Regions from separate parts of the Homo sapiens genome. Here regions 1 and 3 are each linked to region 2. Evidence: promoter capture Hi-C in 16 types of primary human blood cells and fetal thymus (Javierre and others, 2016). All regions are on one chromosome and are shown on one strand. Each heading gives the region's core, a stretch centred on a gene start or on the middle of the fragment in contact. The rest is flanking DNA. Distances are from core to core; before and after follow the strand shown.

The links. The method cuts DNA at HindIII sites, captures the fragments that hold promoters and counts their contacts. A CHiCAGO score of 5 or more calls a contact.
Region 1: a contact is called between a fragment that was not itself captured here and the fragment with the promoter of HOXA13 in region 2, in 1 of 17 cell types (endothelial precursors). The highest score is 6.1, in endothelial precursors.
Region 3: a contact is called between a fragment that was not itself captured here and the fragment with the promoter of HOXA13 in region 2, in 1 of 17 cell types (endothelial precursors). The highest score is 6.2, in endothelial precursors.

Annotation. Positions count from the first base shown.
Region 1 is chr7:28,005,334-28,008,033 of GRCh38, forward strand. All of the region lies in intron 1 of JAZF1 (JAZF zinc finger 1), which reads right to left. Among named protein-coding and RNA genes, the nearest start is that of JAZF1-AS1, 170 kb to the right of the region's middle. The HindIII fragment of the contact is 3,147 bases long and covers 1-2,700 here.
Region 2 is chr7:27,198,840-27,201,539 of GRCh38, forward strand. It overlaps HOXA13 (homeobox A13), which reads right to left and starts at 1,252. Exons shown (of 2, transcript NM_000522.5): 1 at 317-1,252. The coding sequence starts at 1,238. HOTTIP (HOXA distal transcript antisense RNA) reads left to right here and starts at 1,582. Exons shown (of 3, transcript NR_037843.3): 1 at 1,582-1,682; 2 at 1,784-2,700. The HindIII fragment of the contact is 3,899 bases long and covers 1-2,700 here.
Region 3 is chr7:28,053,173-28,055,872 of GRCh38, forward strand. All of the region lies in intron 1 of JAZF1 (JAZF zinc finger 1), which reads right to left. The region is part of intron 2 of LOC105375208 (a long non-coding RNA gene); the gene reads left to right. Among named protein-coding and RNA genes, the nearest start is that of JAZF1-AS1, 130 kb to the right of the region's middle. The HindIII fragment of the contact is 2,180 bases long and covers 294-2,473 here.

The DNA of each region.
Region 1 (2,700 bases), core at 18-2,517, 810 kb after region 2:
GGAAGCCAGTTTTGTCAAGGATTTGACAAAAGGAATTGCCTTCGTTACTTCCTATCTCCCAGGGAAGCCGAATCATTGCTTAAAAAAAAAAAAAAAAGTCACAGGAGAAAGAGCTGAACATCTGGACACAGACTGACTGGATGGCCCTGCCTAAGAGTTATCAAATGTAAGTGCACATAGGTCACAGCTTACTCAGGTCAAATTCTGGTCCAAGAGGCTCTGCCAGGCTGGCTAGAGCATTATGCCTGCCGACTCCACACCCAGGTGGCAGCCAGGAACACAGTGTTCAGGTTCGTGGGCCACAGAGGTTATGTGCTAGCTGGGGATTTATCGTTCCTGATTCTGTGCAAGTTGTGTATTCATTCTACTTGCTAATGAGTAGGGGAGCATGCTGAGCTGTAACTCAATTGATCTCGCTGATGGTGTGAATTTGGGTGTCTGGGAAGTCCCTGGACCTTCTCAGTTATCTGGCACTTGGCAGATGGCTCCTGACAATCTTGGCTTCTGTGGAAGGACTTCTGGGAATTAACTCTGGACTTTCTGTTGCTTAAAAAAAAAAAAAAAAAGGCTTAAATTTCTTTAGACAATGTAAGATGGTAGTTACTGACAGTCTGCTACTTTCTGTGTGACTTGAGCAAGTTTCTCAGCAGATAAAGATGACAGTGACTCATGGCTCCTACACATGAAGAGGTTATTAAGAGGATTAAAAGAGATAAGCCATAGACAGCACAGAGCACAGTGGCTGGTACATGATAAATACTTAATAAATCTTACCCACTAGGGGCCAGGCTCAGTGGCTCATGCCTGTAATACCAGCACTTTGGGAGGCAGAGGCAGCTGGATCACCCCAACTTGGTGAAACCCCATCTCTACTAAAATACAAAAATCAGCCAGGCGTGGTGGTGTGCTCCTGTAGTCCCAGCTACTCAGGAGGCTGAGTCAGGAGAATTACTTAAACCTGGGAAGCGGAGGTCACAGTGAGCCAAGACGGCACCACTGCACTCCAGCCTGGGCAACAGAGCAAGACTGTGTCTCAAAAAAAACAAAAAACAAAAACCCCAAACACCAAAAACTTACCCACTAGGTACCATTATTATTTTAGGTAGTAAGGTCTGAAAGCATTTAGTGCTTGCGTTGTGGGACTACATTTGTGAACAATCAATAGTTCTCAAGTAGCAATAATAACTGATAATAAAGATATTATTACTATCACTGCGTGTCTACTATGGGTCAATACAAAATGAATTGCTTTCTGTGTGCAGTCCTCATGAAAATCCTGTAAGGGAGATATCTCCTGACCCACCCCACTTCCCAGAGGAAAATATAAAGCTCAGAAAAGGCCCAAATCACAGGACCAGGAGATAAAGCCTTAAATCTGGGTTTGTCTGACTTCAAAGTATGTGCTATTTGACCACATTTGCTGCTTCCCCTGAGTAGAAATAACTTGTTTCATAGCATGGAGCCCTGAAACACTGTTCAGTAACAATGCTCTCTAATTAAATTGCCAGGTGGCCTTTCCTTTGTATTTTAACTTTTAAGGTGATTTTATTATATCTCTTCCATAAATGAACATGGATTTTTTATGACAAAATTAAAATAAGCATTATGTAACTATTAGCATAAAACATTTTTGTTCTTGTATGACCCAACATCATCTTACATGGCCCCAGAAGCACATGGAACACTTTCCAGGCACCCCACCTTGCCTAATTCCCACTCTTTAAGTGCTATCCAGCTACTGCAATGGGATGTCAACAGCCCCATAACTTAGGAGCAGGTAAAAGTATGCTATTCCTGATCTTTCCAATAAAGTTTATGTTTTTGATTGCCCACGTCTGACTCTAGGCATAGAATTATTTCTGGACCCAAATATTTCTCATGCCCAGTACTTCGGGAGGCCGAGGTGGGCAGATCACCTGAGGTTAGGAGTTCGAGACCAGTCTGGCCAACATGATGAAACCCCATCTCTACTGAAAATAAAAAAAATTAGCCGGGTGTGGTGAGGTGGGAGGATCACCTGAGGTAGGGAGTTCGAGATCAATCCGACCAACATGGTGAAACCCTGTCTCTACTAAAAATACAAAAATTAGCCAGGTGTGGTGGTGTGTGCCTGTAATCCCAGCTACTGGGGAGGCTGAGGCAGGAGAATCACTGGAACCCGGGAGGCGGAGGTTGCAGTGAGCCGAGATCATGCCGCTGCACTCCAGCCTGGGCAACAGAGTGAGACTCCATCTCAAAAAAAAAAAAAATTATTTCTGGACACTAAGGTTGCTCTTGGGGCTGGCAGGCAACTCTCTGAATTAAGTGGTTGGTTTTGGCCTCATTGCCATGGTGGCAGGAATCAATACAAATTGACCAGGTGACCAGCTGGATGGGAAAGCATACAGGTCTGAGACATGCCTCTTTCCCTTTTTTAAAAAGACTTAAAAATTAGACTTTTTAAAAGAGCAGTTTTAGGTTCACAGCAAAATGGAGAGGAAGGTACAGAGATATCCCATATACTTTTGCTCCCACCCCATGCATGGCCTCTCCCATTACTAGCATTCCCCACTAGAGTTCTTTTTTTTCCTCGCTAAAAAGTGCTTCATAGAATGCTGGAATGCTTTGGAAGCACTGGGATGAAATATTTAGACAAATTCTGATGGAAATCAGAACCCACGACAGAAGCTGCAACACTGTTACTGCACCTGCATCTTTTAT
Region 2 (2,700 bases), core at 2-2,501:
AATTTGGGGAGCTGTTTTCTGGTCAATTTCTCATCCTTAAATTGGTGTCAGGGGCTGGGGAGGGCGGGGCGCAGAGGGAGAGGGAAGCTAGCCGAGGTCTCCACAAGCCACCCCTCACCCAGGGAGAGCCAGGGACCAGCTCAACTCGAGGCAGTGCAGGCAGACCCAGCCAGCCATGCTCGGGCTCCCAGGGGTGCAGAGCCGCTAGGGCAGACCAGGAAGAGAACAGAAACGCACCCGGGATCGCCCGGGTGCGAGCGGAGAAGAAGCTGGAGCAGAGCCGGAAGACCAGGGCTGGGAATAGGTCGTCATTTACCGGGCAGAGTGGACTTCCAGAGGTGGGGAGGCTGCGCCTGCTCTTTGGGGCAGTACATTTGGCCGTTCCAGCCGTTGGGCAGCGCCCAGGGCTGGTAGCTTTCCATGGGAAGACCCAAGGGTTCGTGGCGCGACTCGCCGGGGCCCCCGAGGCCCGGCACCACTGGCATATCCAGGTAGCCAGGCATGGGCTGATGGTGGTGGTAAGGCCCGGCTGCGTAGCCCTGGTGGTAGAAGGCGAACTCCTTAGCGCGGGAGCTGAACTCCTCGGCAGCTGGGCCGGCGGTATCCATGTACTTGTCCGCGAAGGCGGCGGCGGCGGCGGCCGAGGCGGGCTGCGCGCACGACTTGATGGCGTTGGGGTGCGGGCCCATGCGGGCGCACGGGTAGTAGCCGCTGCCGAAGTAGCCATAGGGCAGCGCCGCGGGCCCCGACGAGCTCTGCGCCGCTGCCGAGCAGGGGCTGCATTGCTTGGCGGCCTCTGCGCCCGCCGGGCCCGCCGGGCCGGGACCTCCCGAGGACGACGCGGCGGCGGCGGCGGCGGCTGCAGCGGCAGCCGCGGCAGCAGCGGCGGCAGCCGACGGGGGCGCCTCCCCGGGGGCGCTGCTGTAGGCGGACGCGGCTCCTGGCGCCAAGGGCGCCGGGTGCGCCATCAGGTTGCGGCACTGGTTGGCCGCGGCCGCCGCCGCAGCCGCGGCCGCCGCCGCCACCGAGAAGTTGCCCCCTGCCGCCGCAGCCGCCGGGTGGGGGAAGCCCCCGCCCCCGGCCCCGGCAGCCGCCGCCGCTGCAGCCGCTGCTGCAGCCGCCGCCGCCCCTTCCATGTTCTTGTTGAGCTCGTCGGCCACCAGGCCGCCGCCGTTGTCGTAGAGAAACATGACGGTGGGCTCGATCCAGCGGGGGTGGAGGAGCACGGAGGCTGTCATAGCCCGAGCCGCATGGAGAAGACCCCAGTGGCGCTGTTTTAAAAAGCCCCCAAGAAGTGAAGAGCGCGCGGCGCGGGGCCGGGGCCCGAGCGAGGGGGGCGGATCGCGCCCCGCGGGGTCGCGCCAGGCGGCCGCCCATTGGCCCGGCCCCCCCGCTCCGCCCACGGCGTATGCAAAGCGGGCGGCTCCGACTCCAGCTCTGCACGGTGCACCCGTCGTCCCCGCCGCGGCCCGCGCCGTCCCCAGCGCCAGCCGCGCGGCCGCGCACCATTCACCCGGGGGAGAGGCGGAGGAACGTGCGGGTGGGGCAGGGAAGGAAGGCGGCCCCATCTCCGCCCCCCTTCCCTTCCTTTATCCCAGTGGGGCCCAGACCCGCGCAACCAGGCGGGGAGGGGAGGTGGGCGCGCGATTGGGTTGCGATCTGGAGCAGTGGGGACAGGTCAGGTAATTCTGCCGGCGGTCAGGGATGGGAGAGTGGGGAGGACGGGACCAGCCTAGCTCAGAATGGGTGTTTCTTGGAGCCTCTGGGACTGTTTTCTTTCCAGGAACCGGCGCGTATTTCTGCAGTGAGACCACAGGACGGACATCGGCGCCTTCGGCTTCGATGGAGTTGCGATTTTGCTCTTTCCAGGGAAACAGTGGCAGGGTGTTTGCTGCTTATCGGTTCCTGCGGATATGCCTGGGTCCCAGGACATTCCACTGGAGGCTTGGACTGCATTTAGGAGCCCCTATCCCTTCCCTGTCCACACTGTTAGTGAGCAATTTCATATGTTTGCATTTAGACCCATAGACTCAGAACGACTCATCACACACACACACAGTGTACACTGACACACTCACATTCGCACACTTAGGTATACAGCCTGATCCTTGCTCTGACCTGGTAACAACGCTTCCTCCTCCAGAGACTTTGAGATAGAGCGAGCGATCCCTGTGCACCATTCATCCATGCTCCCACCTCGCCAGTATGGCTGGCTTAGTTCTGGAAGGGGCTTAAGAGGAACAAGCCCCAGCTGTGCTTCTGGCTGGGACTTAAACCCCCCTTCTGGGCCCTAAAGCCACGCTTCTTTGTGGACCGGACCTGACTCTCCAGGAATCTGGGAACCCGCTATTTCACTCTATTTTGGGACAAGAAAAAGGGGCTCTTTGGGGCCACTTCCTGCCTTCCCCTCAAGTAGGATCTCCAGCCTGCAGAGGGTGCCTAGTCCTTCTTTGCCCAAGAACCAGTCCAAGAAGCCTTTCCTCTGTGCCTGGGAAATGCAACCTTTTCTTGGGAGCATGGTAGGGTGTTGGTGCTGAAGAACCAAGCAGCGACCCGTCTTGTAGCTGCCATGTTTTGTCGAGGGGTTCTGGGGGTCCTGCTGCTTTAGAGCCACATACTTCCACTTCCTGATTCACTACTGTGAGCTGGTCAGATGCCTAGAAGAGGAACAAGCGTTCAAAGTGAAAGTGGGCACATTAC
Region 3 (2,700 bases), core at 134-2,633, 850 kb after region 2:
GACATTCCACTGTAATTACACACCACACTTTCTTAATCCACTCATCTGCTGATGGATACTTGGGTTGCTTGTACTCCTTGGCTATTGTAAATAATAGCGTAAATAATTTCGGCGTGCAAATATCTCTTTGAGACCCTGCTTTGAATTATTTTGGATATATACCCAGAAGTGGGTTTGGTGAATCACACAGTAATTCTATTTTCAGTTTTTTGAGGAACATGTTTTCTATAATGTTTTGTGGAACTGTTTTCCATAATGGCTGTACTGTTTTTAATTCCCATAAACAATGCATAAGCTTTCCAATTTTTCTGCATCCTTGCCAATTCTATGACAATTACACAGATAGGAGGAAGAAATCTTTTACAGGAGTGTATTCAGGAAATAATTGAAGAAATTGATTCTACTATATAGCAAAAGAAAACAATAGATAAAACAGTATTTTCATACCTCCTATTAATGGCAAAAAGTATCCCAAAGAACCAAAATATGTTGTGATCCCAATGACAGATTTCAACCAATAAGAGTTTGAAATGAAATAGCTTTTCTTAAATTTCATAACACTGGCACTTGGCTTTTGAGCAAAGGAGTGGAAAGGTACGGAAAGAACTGGAGGGGGCTAAGAAGACACAGGCTGAATCCACTCATACTGAGAAGATGCTAGAGGGCCTCACAGGACCCTTCCATCCTCACCTTTCCCACCCCACCTCACACCCCGAGCAGCTCTGCATCAATCTTTTTAAAAAACTGTTGAATAAAGCAAAAAGAAAAGGAAAAAAGGAAAGCCATTAGTCTTTATGCTCCTTCCAGGATTAAAATTCAATTTCTTCAATTAGGGTAGGAATCCTTGTCTATTTCTCACTTTGCATATATACCTCCCCAAGTATAAACTTCCCATCTTCATTCTGAAAAGTAAATGTGCCTCAAACCAATTAGTGAAGTAGAACAAAACCTTCAAATTCTATTTTCCACAGAGCATATAATCCTATATCTACTTAAATATACAAAGCACTACTTTCAGTCATCATTCTTGCTCAATCAATACCATTTATCTATTAATAGGATGGCTCTCTTATTTGCTCTAGCATAAAACTGACCCCATAGTAGTTATAGAAGTTGAAGAGATACAACTTAAAAAGAATCTACCCTTTTAAATTTAACCAATCCCAGTTGTCCTTTATAACAACTGATACATGGATATTCAACTAGTGTATGGCAAGGCAGTCACCAGCACTGGAACGAAAATGGGTCCTTTCCTATATACGAAGAGAACACTGTACCATTACTTTTGAGAGGGAGAATGGCAAAAAACACTGACCCTAGGGCCCTTGCTCCCTAGTCATGCCCCTAGACCCAGTGAAGCCTCCCCTTGTACACTTGCTGACAGGATCTCTATTTGCAGTCTGTTTGGGTATGTTCTGGCCACACTAAAGCTACTTGTAAATATTTCTGCCATTTCCCTTTAGGAAACCCAGGGCCTGGTATAATATGTGATTCTCTCATGCTCGAGGCCATTAGGGTAAATGTGCCTCGTGTATCCCACTTAAAAAGTTAACGCAGGAAGAGGTGCAGACGCTGGTAGACACAGTCTGCCTTTCTTCCTGCTGTCTGGTTAATGTAGCAACTGGCTGCTCAGGAAGGAAGGGGAGGGAGATGGACCGGAGAGCTGAAAAGACGGCTGGCGCTAGGTAGGATTTACCTCATAGACTTACCCACACCATCCCTCCCTAAAACAAGCTACAGTGCATGGCGCTCACATTGCATTTTGAGGTAAAAGTTCTCAATATAGGTGCTGGCAATGTGCTCTATCTCGATCTGGATGGTGTTTACCAGGGCTATAGATGAACTATGCAATGGGTAAAAATCAGTCAAGTACACTTAGAATTCGTGTACTACATGTTAATAAGACTTTGAGAAATTAAATTTTAAAAGTTCCCAATATAGACTTACTAAATGACAGAGGATGGCTCCAATTCATTCCTTTCAGGTGTTTTAAAAAAAAAAAAATTTTTGCAATGACCTGATGTCTCCAACTTCTAGTCTAGTCTCTCTCCCTCCCATCCCCTTTTTGCATCACTAACACATTAAAATTCCTGAAGTTCCACTCTGATCAAGTCATATTCCAGGGTAAAAATCCCTGATGGCTCTCCACGGTTTATCACTGTCTATAAACTCCCTGGCCTGGCACTCATTCCCCACTCCAGGGTTAGCCACATGCCCTGGCCCAAAACACCCCTCAACAGCCTTCCCTAAGCCCGTCCTATGAAGATCTCCCAGCCCACACTTTGGTGCGTGTGATTTCCTCTCCTCTACCTCCACCCCTCCCCAAATTTCCATCTTGGACTGTTAAACATATGTATGTATACCTTTCCAGCTTCCTCCAAATGAATACTCTAATAGTAACAGCAAGAGATCTTTGTTTATTATGGATTTGATAATTAATAATGTTTTAATATCATTTACTACATACAATGTAAGCTTCACGAAGACAAGGCTCTTTGTTGTATTCACCAATGTATCTCTTGGGCTTGGAAGAGCGGCTGGCACATAGTAGATGCACAACGATTATTTGCTGATTTGATGATAATAGCTTTCCTGAAGGAGAGCCTGTTTCCCACACACTGTGCTTTAATACAGATCATTTCTATTCCTGAAAACACCAAAGCAATACGTATAATATAAGCCCCACATTCCAGATGGGGA